Linked DNA regions of Homo sapiens: regions 2 and 3 are each linked to region 1. Evidence: promoter capture Hi-C in human tissues and cell types (Jung and others, 2019). All regions are on one chromosome and are shown on one strand. The core of a region is centred on a gene start or on the middle of the fragment in contact, and the rest is flanking DNA. Distances in the headings are between cores, read along the strand shown. Region 1 overlaps GAL3ST3 (galactose-3-O-sulfotransferase 3). Region 2 holds the start of CD248 (CD248 molecule). Region 3 holds the start of AP5B1 (adaptor related protein complex 5 subunit beta 1).

Region 1 (4,198 bases), core at 641-3,140:
CCCACCTGTTGGAGCTCTTTGCATCAGACCTGCTGGGGGCCAGATCCCATCTCCTCTGCCCACTGCAAACCCGTCTGCCTTCTTCTGCCAGGCTTCTCGGGAACACTGGCCCTGCTACCAGAGCCGCAGGATCCCCCATGAGTGCCTGTGAAGGGAGTCCTGGATAGTGAGGCCCTGGCTGGTCCAGGGGTGGGTACTCCGCCATGCCACCCATCCTCCAGCGCCTGCAGCAGGCCACCAAGATGATGAGCCGCCGGAAAATCCTGCTGCTGGTGCTAGGGTGCAGCACCGTAAGCCTTCTCATCCACCAGGGGGCGCAGCTCAGCTGGTAAGGGGGCGGGGCCCCAGGGGGGCCGGAGCTCCCCTCCCCATTCTTCCACCTGCTAGAAGGGTCCTGCTAGGCTTTGCTCCTCCCCTCTATTCTGAAAGTGCTTTCCCTTTAGGGCCACACAGCCTCCCTGGACAGGGACTGCTCTTCAATGAAAGGGCTGAGTGACTTGCTCAAAGTTACAGAATCAGTTAGCTGAGATCCGAATCCAGCTCAACTCCCCACAGCATGCAGCTAAGCATTTCCCCAGTGGAAACAACTTCTCACAACTTCCGTAGTGCTGGGCAAGGCCAAGTCCCCTCACTTCTCCGAGCCCCCGTTTTCTCATCTATAAAGTGAGACATGATATGTGTGACACAGCCAGTCACCCTCACACAGGATACCATGTGATTCATGGGAACCCCAACCCTACTCCTGACTCACTGTGTGAACCCAACAAATCCCTGCACCTCTCGGAGACTTCATGTCCCCATTTTCTACACTGTCTGCCCCTGAGAATGGTGTGAATGCGCCCAGCCCCCCTTGCCAGATAATTTGGTTTGAAATCCCAAACACCCATGTTTTAAGAATGAAGCAACAGAAATGAAAGCTTCACGAGGGCTAGGATTGTTTTTGTATATTACTGTATTTCTTGAACCTAGCATTAACCTGGCACATAGTGGACACCCAAAAAATATTTGATGACTGAATTAATGAGGCTTTAGAAGCCTCAAGAGAAACATAACAATGGGTTGCTGCAAAGCCCAGTGCCAACCATCTACAAAGTGAGGAGCCAGTTAAAGAGTAAAAATGAGAAAGAGCAAAAGGATTTAGTGACCATGTGAGTCGTCTCCAGACTTTGTGTAAGTGATTGTTCTCCTTTTGGCCCTCAGTTTCTACATATACAAAGTGGGATTCCTCAAAGATCTCCAGGGGTCTTTGTCCCTTATTTATTTCTACATAAACAAATTATCTTAAAGCTTAGCAGCTGAAAACACAAACATCTGTTATTTTGGGTCAGGAAGCCAGGTGTGGCTTACTGGGAACTTCTGGACCAAGGTCTTTCATGGGGTTGCAACCAAGGTGTTTGCTGGTGATGCAGTCTCATCCGAAGGCTTGATTGGAAGGGATCAGCTTCCAAGCTCACTCACGTGGTTTTGACAGGCTTCAGGTCTTCAAGCCGGCTGGTGGACTGAGGGCCTTAGGTCCTTGTGGGCTTTTCCCACTTAGTGGTAGCTCCCTATAGGGCTGCCCACTATATGGCAGCTTGCTTCCCCCATCATCTGTCATCCCAGATTGAGTGAAAGACACCAAGATACTAGCCAGCCACAGTCTTTCTATGATGAAATTTAAGAAGTGACATCCCATCATTTCTGCCCTCTTCTCTTCTTTAGATGCAATGATAAGTCCAGCCTAACTCAGGTGAGGGGAATACTCAAGGGCATGAATACCAGGAGGGCAGCAGGGATCATAGAGGGCATCTTAGAGGCTACCAAGCACCGCCCTCGACCTTTCCATGAGTGCAGCCCAGGCGGGGCCGCGCTGTGGGGCATCCCACAGTCCTTGGGTAAGGGCAGGGGTCAAGCGGCAGCCCCCTCACACCCTCCTCTCCGCACACTCCCTGGGCCTGGCAGGTACCCCAAGCTGTTCCCCTTGAGCTGCCCTCCTCTGCGGAACTCGCCGCCGCGCCCCAAGCACATGACTGTGGCCTTCCTGAAGACTCACAAGACGGCAGGCACGACGGTGCAGAACATCCTGTTTCGCTTTGCCGAGCGCCACAACCTGACGGTGGCCCTGCCGCACCCGAGCTGCGAGCACCAGTTCTGCTACCCCCGCAACTTCTCGGCGCACTTCGTGCACCCGGCCACGCGGCCGCCGCACGTGCTGGCCAGCCACCTGCGCTTCGACCGTGCGGAGCTGGAGCGCCTCATGCCGCCCAGCACCGTCTATGTCACCATCCTGCGCGAGCCGGCCGCCATGTTCGAGTCGCTCTTCAGCTACTACAACCAGTACTGCCCGGCCTTCCGGCGCGTACCCAACGCCTCGCTCGAGGCCTTCCTGCGCGCGCCCGAGGCATACTACCGCGCTGGCGAGCACTTCGCCATGTTCGCACACAACACGCTGGCCTACGACCTGGGCGGCGACAATGAGCGCAGCCCGCGCGACGACGCCGCCTACCTGGCGGGCCTCATCCGCCAGGTGGAGGAGGTTTTCTCGCTCGTCATGATCGCCGAGTACTTCGACGAGTCGCTAGTGCTGCTGCGGCGCCTACTGGCCTGGGACCTGGACGACGTGCTCTACGCCAAGCTCAACGCGCGCGCCGCCAGCTCGCGCCTGGCCGCCATCCCCGCGGCGCTGGCGCGGGCGGCGCGCACCTGGAACGCCCTGGACGCCGGCCTCTACGACCACTTCAACGCCACCTTCTGGCGCCACGTGGCGCGCGCGGGCCGCGCGTGCGTGGAGCGCGAGGCGCGCGAGCTGCGCGAGGCCCGCCAGCGCCTACTGCGGCGCTGCTTCGGGGACGAGCCACTGCTGCGGCCTGCCGCGCAGATCCGCACCAAGCAGCTGCAGCCGTGGCAGCCCAGCCGCAAGGTGGACATTATGGGCTATGACCTGCCCGGCGGCGGCGCCGGCCCGGCCACCGAGGCCTGCCTCAAGCTGGCCATGCCCGAGGTCCAGTACTCGAACTACCTGTTGCGCAAGCAGAAGCGCCGGGGCGGTGCGCGGGCTCGGCCCGAGCCCGTCCTGGACAATCCCCCGCCTCGGCCCATCCGAGTGCTGCCTCGCGGCCCTCAAGGTCCCTGAGCTCCGCAGGCCTCCAGGAGTATGGGTCCTGCCCTGCCCTCCCAGGAGTCCAGCCAGGGGCTGCCTCCATGTCCTGCCCCCATGAGAGCCCTTTCTTTTCAAGGGGCTTGAGTCCCTCGCTGAACTTTGGGGTACGCCTCCCTATCTGAGCCCCCGCTCCCGATCGTGGGCTGAACCTTGCCTTCGGGCACGGCGCTGATAGGCTGGATCCAGCGCTGGGCCACCCTCTCCTTCCCAGCTGGTTGGTGATTTTGACAAGAGGCCTGAGGGCTGTCCAGAACTGCTCACCCTGCCTTTTTCTGGGGGCTGAGCCCCCACAACCTGTCTTTTCCAAGTGGATAAGCCCAGGCCCCATGGAGAGAGGCTCAGCCCTAGGGAAAGGCTGCTCTTGCTCTCCCTCCCAGGGCTTGAGGCTCCCTATACTTTTCTGTCTTCCAGGTTCTACCCTCCCCACAGACCTAAGCTGCTCCCAGTCTCCCAGAACCAAGAGTTCTTGGGTTGGGATTTTTGTTTGGTTGGTTTTTCTTTTTTTTAATAAAACATCTTTAAAATGTGCGAGTTGTATGTCAGTCATAGAAGCCGGATTCCCCACATTTGAGGATGAAACGGATGCCCAGGAGGAGCTGTGGCTGGACCCATGAGGATGGGGGCCTGGACTCAAGGTCCCCCGCCACCTGGCATAGGCCTACAACCCTCCTCAACCGCTTGACCGACTGGGCCCCCAACACAGACTGGCCACCTTAGCCCCACTCACTTTCCACATCGTTCTTTTTCACAAAATTCTGCGACATTTACTGAGCATCATCTCTGTAACTTGGGGATACAGGTGAACCAGATAGATAGGGCCTTATTTTCATGGAGCTTATGGGGAAACATTGGAACAGGAGCAAGACAGGTAAGCAAAGAGGAAGGACTGGAGGGGTTAGAGCACAACACCTCTTTGGGTGGAAGGAGGATCATTTTCAGATAAGGAGCTGCCTAACTCAGAATTTGACCTCCTCCTGTGAATCACTGACTTCACTAATGGCCTGCTTTCCTCACAAGAAGACAACTTGGACTCAGATGAAGACCAGTCCCTTTCTGCAG
Region 2 (4,198 bases), core at 624-3,123, 270 kb before region 1:
AAAGAAGGTGTCCAGGAGTGGTCAGATTCTGGATCTCTTTTGAAAGTGAAGCCAACAGGATTTGCTGAGAGACTGGATGTGGGCTGTGGGAGAAAGAGAGGAGTCAAGCATGACCTCAAGGTTTGGGGCCTGAGCCAACAGAAGGATGAACTCCTCCATCTTGACTTTTGTCTCCTGAGAAGGGGAGTCATTCTGTGTGCTTCACATGTATAGACCTTGTAAGAAGGAACTTCCAGGCATATGGCAAGAACTTCCTAAGCCCTGGTTCTCGAGGGGCTGGCTGGGTCTGCAGGGCCAGCCTAGGCACTGTAAGGTGGTTTGCAAAAACGCACCCTGGTCTCCACCCACCACATATGCTCAGAAGACAGGAACATTTGCTTCAGGCTCCACAGCTGACAAAGCACATTTGCAAACACTGAGCGCTGTGACGCAATATCTCAGCCCTGCTGAGCTAAAAATCCTGGACTCATTGCCCTCATGTTGCAACTGAGAAAAAAGGAGACCCAGAGAGGGCCAGTGACTCCCCTGCAGTCACAAAGTCGATCCATCTGTGGCAGAGGGGGAAGCTGCATCAGGGCAGTTTACTGAAGGGCGGAACCTCTCCCCCACCTCCCCACACTGTTTCTAACTTCTGCTAAGAGTGCAGCGGGTGTGCATGGGTTAATCCGCCAGCCAGCTCCCCAGAGGCCATCCTGGATGATGGGCTCAGTGCACATGCCTCCAGAGGCCTCCAGGAAGGGCGGGAAGAGGACCCTGGCCAGGCCGAAACAGCAGGCCCCGGGGGCAGGGAGGGCTCCACACACGTGATGCCTGTGTCACATATACACATATATGTCACTGTGTGCCCCATGCCCATACATGGCCTTGCATGGGTCCCCTCACAGCCTTCCACATCCTGCGTGCAGCCCAGCCCCCACCCAGCCCCCTAAACCACGCACCCTGCCTTCCTGACGCAGGAGCCCAGAGAGGCATTTCCTGTTTAGGGGCTGCCTCCTCCCCCTCTAAGCCCAGGTTCCCAGGGCCCCAGGCTGAGCTGGGGTGAGGGGAGGGCAGCCCCTGGCCCCCTCACTCCCCCAACACCCCCACACGCTGGCCCAGCTGGAACCAGAAAGCTTGAGTATAGGGGGAGAGGCTGACGCAGGGGCTCAGTAAATAAATGAGAGGCTGAGGATGCCTGTGCCTGGGTGACCAAGCTGTTTCCATTCAGGCCGAATCGGAGGTCTTCATATGTCAGGCCATGTAGAATGCCACACCATTTTTGTATGTGCACCTAGGGTCTCAGCATGTCAGAATGTGTGTACGTGTGGCAAGGGAGTCATCTGCAAGCCAGCATAGGTCCACGGTGAGGTGAAGGGACAAACAGCTTGGCAGAGAGTGCACTCTTGCATGGGGTTGGGGGTGGGGGAGGCGCATGCGCGCGTCTGTGGGGCAAGAAAGGAGTGGGCATGAGGGTGTTCCCGTGCATGGCGAGCAGCTGGGCTGAGACTGCTCCCGGGTGTGATGGGGCTGCTGTGTCCAGATTTGGGTCTCTGAGTCTCTGGGAAGCGACCTCACCCCACAGCCCCGAGCCCCAACTTGAGGGTCACAGAGCTCGGCAGGCAGGCTTTTCCCACCCCCTGACTCTCAGCCCCATGGGGCCTGGGGCAGCCGTCAACTGCGCCTTCTCCCCTCCTCCGCCCCCAACCTTAGAGCCCCCCACCCCACTGCTTCCTGCTCTAGCGGCCCCCGGGGAAGAGGGAGCAGGGAGCTGGCAGCCGCCCCAGCCCACTCCTTACAAGGCCTGAGCCCGGCCCCAGGCCCGCCCCCGGCCCGCCCGCAGGAGGCCCCAGGCCCTCCCCCTGTCAAGAGCTGCCGCCAGCCCGGGGCCGGACCAGTCCGGGGGCATCGCGATGCTGCTGCGCCTGTTGCTGGCCTGGGCGGCCGCAGGGCCCACACTGGGCCAGGACCCCTGGGCTGCTGAGCCCCGTGCCGCCTGCGGCCCCAGCAGCTGCTACGCTCTCTTCCCACGGCGCCGCACCTTCCTGGAGGCCTGGCGGGCCTGCCGCGAGCTGGGGGGCGACCTGGCCACTCCTCGGACCCCCGAGGAGGCCCAGCGTGTGGACAGCCTGGTGGGTGCGGGCCCAGCCAGCCGGCTGCTGTGGATCGGGCTGCAGCGGCAGGCCCGGCAATGCCAGCTGCAGCGCCCACTGCGCGGCTTCACGTGGACCACAGGGGACCAGGACACGGCTTTCACCAACTGGGCCCAGCCAGCCTCTGGAGGCCCCTGCCCGGCCCAGCGCTGTGTGGCCCTGGAGGCAAGTGGCGAGCACCGCTGGCTGGAGGGCTCGTGCACGCTGGCTGTCGACGGCTACCTGTGCCAGTTTGGCTTCGAGGGCGCCTGCCCGGCGCTGCAAGATGAGGCGGGCCAGGCCGGCCCAGCCGTGTATACCACGCCCTTCCACCTGGTCTCCACAGAGTTTGAGTGGCTGCCCTTCGGCTCTGTGGCCGCTGTGCAGTGCCAGGCTGGCAGGGGAGCCTCTCTGCTCTGCGTGAAGCAGCCTGAGGGAGGTGTGGGCTGGTCACGGGCTGGGCCCCTGTGCCTGGGGACTGGCTGCAGCCCTGACAACGGGGGCTGCGAACACGAATGTGTGGAGGAGGTGGATGGTCACGTGTCCTGCCGCTGCACTGAGGGCTTCCGGCTGGCAGCAGACGGGCGCAGTTGCGAGGACCCCTGTGCCCAGGCTCCGTGCGAGCAGCAGTGTGAGCCCGGTGGGCCACAAGGCTACAGCTGCCACTGTCGCCTGGGTTTCCGGCCAGCGGAGGATGATCCGCACCGCTGTGTGGACACAGATGAGTGCCAGATTGCCGGTGTGTGCCAGCAGATGTGTGTCAACTACGTTGGTGGCTTCGAGTGTTATTGTAGCGAGGGACATGAGCTGGAGGCTGATGGCATCAGCTGCAGCCCTGCAGGGGCCATGGGTGCCCAGGCTTCCCAGGACCTCGGAGATGAGTTGCTGGATGACGGGGAGGATGAGGAAGATGAAGACGAGGCCTGGAAGGCCTTCAACGGTGGCTGGACGGAGATGCCTGGGATCCTGTGGATGGAGCCTACGCAGCCGCCTGACTTTGCCCTGGCCTATAGACCGAGCTTCCCAGAGGACAGAGAGCCACAGATACCCTACCCGGAGCCCACCTGGCCACCCCCGCTCAGTGCCCCCAGGGTCCCCTACCACTCCTCAGTGCTCTCCGTCACCCGGCCTGTGGTGGTCTCTGCCACGCATCCCACACTGCCTTCTGCCCACCAGCCTCCTGTGATCCCTGCCACACACCCAGCTTTGTCCCGTGACCACCAGATCCCCGTGATCGCAGCCAACTATCCAGATCTGCCTTCTGCCTACCAACCCGGTATTCTCTCTGTCTCTCATTCAGCACAGCCTCCTGCCCACCAGCCCCCTATGATCTCAACCAAATATCCGGAGCTCTTCCCTGCCCACCAGTCCCCCATGTTTCCAGACACCCGGGTCGCTGGCACCCAGACCACCACTCATTTGCCTGGAATCCCACCTAACCATGCCCCTCTGGTCACCACCCTCGGTGCCCAGCTACCCCCTCAAGCCCCAGATGCCCTTGTCCTCAGAACCCAGGCCACCCAGCTTCCCATTATCCCAACTGCCCAGCCCTCTCTGACCACCACCTCCAGGTCCCCTGTGTCTCCTGCCCATCAAATCTCTGTGCCTGCTGCCACCCAGCCCGCAGCCCTCCCCACCCTCCTGCCCTCTCAGAGCCCCACTAACCAGACCTCACCCATCAGCCCTACACATCCCCATTCCAAAGCCCCCCAAATCCCAAGGGAAGATGGCCCCAGTCCCAAGTTGGCCCTGTGGCTGCCCTCACCAGCTCCCACAGCAGCCCCAACAGCCCTGGGGGAGGCTGGTCTTGCCGAGCACAGCCAGAGGGATGACCGGTGGCTGCTGGTGGCACTCCTGGTGCCAACGTGTGTCTTTTTGGTGGTCCTGCTTGCACTGGGCATCGTGTACTGCACCCGCTGTGGCCCCCATGCACCCAACAAGCGCATCACTGACTGCTATCGCTGGGTCATCCATGCTGGGAGCAAGAGCCCAACAGAACCCATGCCCCCCAGGGGCAGCCTCACAGGGGTGCAGACCTGCAGAACCAGCGTGTGATGGGGTGCAGACCCCCCTCATGGAGTATGGGGCGC
Region 3 (4,198 bases), core at 989-3,488, 260 kb after region 1:
CGAGAGTGTGTTTGTTGTAGCCCGATTTTACAGATGAGAAAACTGAGGCTCAGGACCCCTTGGGAAGCTGACTTTCCCTTTTACAAGCCTTGTGTTTAGTGTCTGCCCACAACTGGGCTGCATGGGGAGGACAGAAACTCAGCAGGAGAAGAAATGAGGGAGGGCGTGGAGTGGGGAATTCCCAGCTCAGCATCCGGCAGTGGCCCACACCTGGGCCCTCGACTGGGATGTTGCTGTCCCGGGTGAGTCCGGTGACAGTCTGAGCTCAGCTCCATGCCTGGCCTTGCCAGGGACAGAGCCAGCACCACCCGCCAATAGGGGAGCAGACAGGTGAGAACAGGGCCCATCCAGGGACCTGGACACCCAAGAGGGCCGAGGGTACCTGGTGTGGGGGGAGGACCAGGTCAGATGCAACAAGGGGCTGTTTGTGGAAGTCGAGGCTCCACCTCTGAGGGGCTCTGTGACTGAGAGACCGTACCTCTGTGGGCTTCCCTTTCCTCATCTGATACCCACTCTCGGTACCTGGGGTTGCTGTGAGCCTCAGTAAGTCCATGCGGATTCGTCCACTGCAGTATTGGAGACCACAAGTGGGTTCCCTCCCTCCAGACCCTCAGCCTCAAGGAGTCAAGACTCAGGCAGGAGGTGTGCAGAGGCCACGCTGTCAGAGGCTGAGCCGGGGCCAGAGCCAGTGTCAGGCCCCCTGATCCTTGGAAACCTGTCTTCTCAACTCTGCAAGAAGTTTAATGATCATTCCTGCCTCACCGTGAGGGTGGTGAGGGCCGGGGATGTGCAGTTACCAGCACCCTCTGGGCTCAGACAGAGAAACCAGACTGGCTCCTACTGCAGGCTGCCTCCCCTCCCCAGGGCTGCTCTCATCCTGCCTCTTTCATCTTGGGTTTAATTAGCCAGGCTGCCTCACCCCACAGCCTCTTGGGTGGGAGTTATCACTCCCATTTTATAGATGGGGAAACTGAGGCACCTAGAGGGAAGTAGTTTGGGGCTGCTGCCTGTGAGTCAACTGTGGAGCCAGGGCCTAGAGGAGCCGGGACCGGGCCTTCTGGCTGGACCTGTCCCTCCGAGTGGGTCTCTATCTCTCCATCCCCAAGGGCACCCAGACAGCCTCCTTTTTGGCACTCTCCACCCCTCAACTCTCCACCACCTCCCATCTGGAGCAGGATGGGGTAGGGAGAGGCCAGCTGGCACTGGCTTGCATGGGGGCTCAGGCCTGTTTCATCTTCAAAGCGGCTAATTGGAGCCAGAGGGGTGGTGAGGTTTGGGCGCCGGCGGTTCTGTGCCCTGGAAACCGGTGGTCTGTGGGGCACCTGCAACCTGGGCCTCTGGCCTGGGAGAGACCGCCGCCCAGACCCCCGAATGCCCCCAAACAGCCAGAATCCAGCCCACTGAAGTCTGGAGTGCTGGGTTCCGGCCCGGCTTGGCCCCAGATCTCGGTTGGCAAGGCCGCCCTCCTCCTGGGCCTGTTTTCCCCATCGCTAGGCATGCCTCGAGCCCCGTGACCGGCCAGGCCCTGACAGCCCGCACTTCCCGAGTATGGATCCCGTTGTTTTCGACTTAGGGCCCTGCCCCGCCCTCGCCGTCACGACCCCTGCGGGCCGCCAGCGCGGCCTCGGGCAAACAAAGGTCAGAAGCTCCTGGCTGGCCGCAACCGCGGCGCCGGCTCCTCGCCCCCAAGCCGAGCGGGCTGGGGGCCCGGGCAGGCGTCAGGGAAGCGAAGCCAAGCCCTGCGGCGCCCGCCGGACCGGTTCAGCTGGGGCGCTTTTCCTGCGGGCGCCCTGCGACCGCACCTTGGTCACCCCCAGGGGCCACTCCGGGAGCCCCAGGACCCGCACCCACGCCCCCCGGGGCCGCGCGTCTGGCGCAGGGTGCGGTGTGCCCGGGCGCCGGCGGGGGGCGCGCTGGCTGCCGCCCTGCGCGGCTTGGCGGGCGCTGGTGGGACCGGGCCGCTGTCCGCCGAGGGCCGCGGGATCGCAGCCCTGCGCCGCGGTACCCGGCATCTGGGGCCCAGGCCCACCCCGCTCCGCCACCCCTACCCACTCCCCTCCGCCTTTCCTGCCCCGGCCTGCGGCGGTTTCGGGGAAGGGGGCCTGCGCGGCGGGACAGTTAGTCAGCCCCCGCGAAACCTGCGAGTCGACACCTGCGGGAGGCGGTGGCCCCGTTACGCCCCGCCCCTCCCCGCCCGGACTCGGCCGCCCCCGCGCCGCGCCCCGCCCCGCGCCGCCAGCCCGGAAGGAGCCGGCCGGCCTGAGTGCCCGCGGCGGCTGAGTCAGGCGGCGAGCGCGGCCCGTTACCGCCGGCGCCGGGGGCCGGGGTGGCGCTGTGGTTTCGGTGCGGGCCGCGGGCGGGAGGGAGGCGGCCTAACGAGCTCTCGGCACGCACCCTCCCCCGCCCTGCTCCTGTCCTGTCCCGCGAGGGCCCCGGCGCCCAGCTCTGGCGTCGGCCCCGAGAGCCCTGGTCTCACCGTGGGAGCCGGGCGCGGGTCCCGCCGGCATCTGCGCGGCGTCTGGGGGTGACCGCAGCCCCTCGGGGTCGGCAGCGGGCCCCGCGCTCCCGGTGGCTGCGGCCTGAGGGTCCCTCTTCCCTGCGCAGGGGCCCGCGCGCCTCACCATGGGGCCCCTGAGCCGGGACGCCTGGGCCCAGCGCTTGGGGGCCTTCCGGGCCAGCCCGTCTGCCTTCATGGCAGGTCCCGAGGGGGAGGATTTGGGTCGCGACCTGCTGAGCGACCTGAGAAGTGAGAAGCTGAGCGAACAGACCAAGGTAGGCCCCCACGCGTCCCCTGCGCCGTTCCGCAGGGTCACCCCAGCCCGCCGCGTCATGAACCTCATCTTCGTGATTCCCTCCTAATCCCCCATCCAGGTTTCCCTGCTGGCCCTGAGCATGGAGTACCCTGCGCAGCTGTGGCCCGACGCCTCTGCGGCCGAAGTGGCCGCCACCTCCCTGTTGGACACCTTGGTCCTCCTACCCCCGCGGCCCTCAGCTCTCCGTCGGCCACTGCTGCTGGCGGCCACCACTGCCCTGGCGGCGGGCGGCGCGCTGGGCCCCACCTCGGGCGCCTCCTGCCGGCTCCTGCCCCTACTGCTCGGCCTGGCCGCGGGTAGCGATCTGGGGCGAGGCTTTGTCCCCGCCTCGGAACAGCGCCCCTTGCAGGCCACGGCCTGCGAGTGCCTGCGAGAGCTAGAGAGCTGCAAGCCCGGGCTGCTGGGGGGCTCCCTGGGGTTGCTGCGGGGCCTGCTGGGGCAGGAAGGCCCTGTCCAGCCACTCAGCCTGTTGCTGGCCCTCGCTTTGCGCAACACCTTGGTGCTCCAGTCCCGGGTTGGGGCTGGCCTGGGGGGACTGCTCACGGATAAGGTCTCCCCAACTGGGGGTGGTCCCTGGGATTGGACACTAGTGGAGGAGGGCGATGGACGCCTTCAGCCCCAGGCACCCAGCTGGCCGGCAGCTGAGGAGGGAGAGGGGGAGCGTAGCCTTACAGCACGAGAGCACAGCCCTGAGGAGGCGCGGGAGCTGCGGGCTGCGGTGATCCAGCTTCTGGACACCTCCTATCTGCTCACTCCTGTGGCCCAGGCCCAGCTCCTGTGGCTGCTGGGCTGGGCCCTGCGGGGTCTGCAGGGACAGCCACCGGCACTCTTCAAGCCGCAGCTGGTACGGCTGCTAGGCACAGCACAGCTGACACTGTTGCACGCCATGCTTGCGCTCAAGGCGGCCTTTGGTGAGGCCTTGTTCACAGCCCAGGATGAAGCGTTGCTGCTCCGCCGGCTCACCTTGGCTGCCCAGCACCCTGCTCTGCCTCCGCCCACCCATCTCTTTTACCTTCACTGCGTCCTGAGCTTCCCTGAGAACTGGCCGCTGGGCCCTGAAGGTGAGGAGGCTGCCCCACTGCTGCTAGGGCCCCAGCTATGCCGTGGTCTCCTGCCCAGTCTCCTGCATGACCCAATGGCCCTCCTGGCCCGCCTGCATTTACTGTGCCTGCTCTGTGCCGAGGAGGAAGAAGAGGAGAAAGGCCAGCTTCCAAGCCCACGGCACTACCTGGAAGAGCTGCTGGCTGGCTTGCGGCAGCGGGCAGCCCTGGATGGGGGCCCCCGGGCCTTGGCCACTCTCTGCTTCCAGGCCTCGTATCTGGTGGCCTGCTGCCTGGCTGGGCAACCTACGGTGCTGACCCCCTTGATCCACGGACTGGCCCAGC

What was found. The method cuts DNA at HindIII sites, captures the fragments that hold promoters and counts their contacts. A contact is called where the count stands out against the background at its distance.
Region 2: a contact is called between the fragment with the promoter of CD248 here and a fragment that was not itself captured in region 1, in 1 of the 25 tissues and cell types used here (dorsolateral prefrontal cortex).
Region 3: the fragment with the promoter of AP5B1 here is called in contact with a fragment that was not itself captured in region 1 in 2 of the 25 tissues and cell types used here (lymphoblastoid cells and spleen).

The regions. Positions count from the first base shown.
Region 1 is chr11:66,041,421-66,045,618 of GRCh38, reverse strand. It overlaps GAL3ST3 (galactose-3-O-sulfotransferase 3), which reads left to right. Exons shown (of 3, transcript NM_033036.3): 2 at 92-328; 3 at 1,942-4,198. The coding sequence starts at 204. The coding sequence ends at 3,112. Among named protein-coding and RNA genes, the nearest start is that of GAL3ST3, 5.6 kb to the left of the region's middle. RefSeq lists an enhancer at 1-176 and a silencer at 287-336. The HindIII fragment of the contact is 5,576 bases long and covers 1-4,198 here.
Region 2 is chr11:66,314,719-66,318,916 of GRCh38, reverse strand. CD248 (CD248 molecule) reads left to right here and starts at 1,873. Exons shown (of 1, transcript NM_020404.3): 1 at 1,873-4,198. The coding sequence starts at 1,890. The coding sequence ends at 4,163. RefSeq lists a silencer at 1,675-1,944 and an enhancer at 2,428-3,124. The HindIII fragment of the contact is 8,045 bases long and covers 1-4,198 here.
Region 3 is chr11:65,779,016-65,783,213 of GRCh38, reverse strand. It overlaps AP5B1 (adaptor related protein complex 5 subunit beta 1), which reads left to right and starts at 2,238. Exons shown (of 2, transcript NM_138368.5): 1 at 2,238-2,772; 2 at 2,872-4,198. The coding sequence starts at 2,623. RefSeq lists enhancers at 867-1,524, 2,254-3,156 and silencers at 1,785-2,524, 2,565-2,744, 2,895-3,164. The HindIII fragment of the contact is 21,769 bases long and covers 1-4,198 here.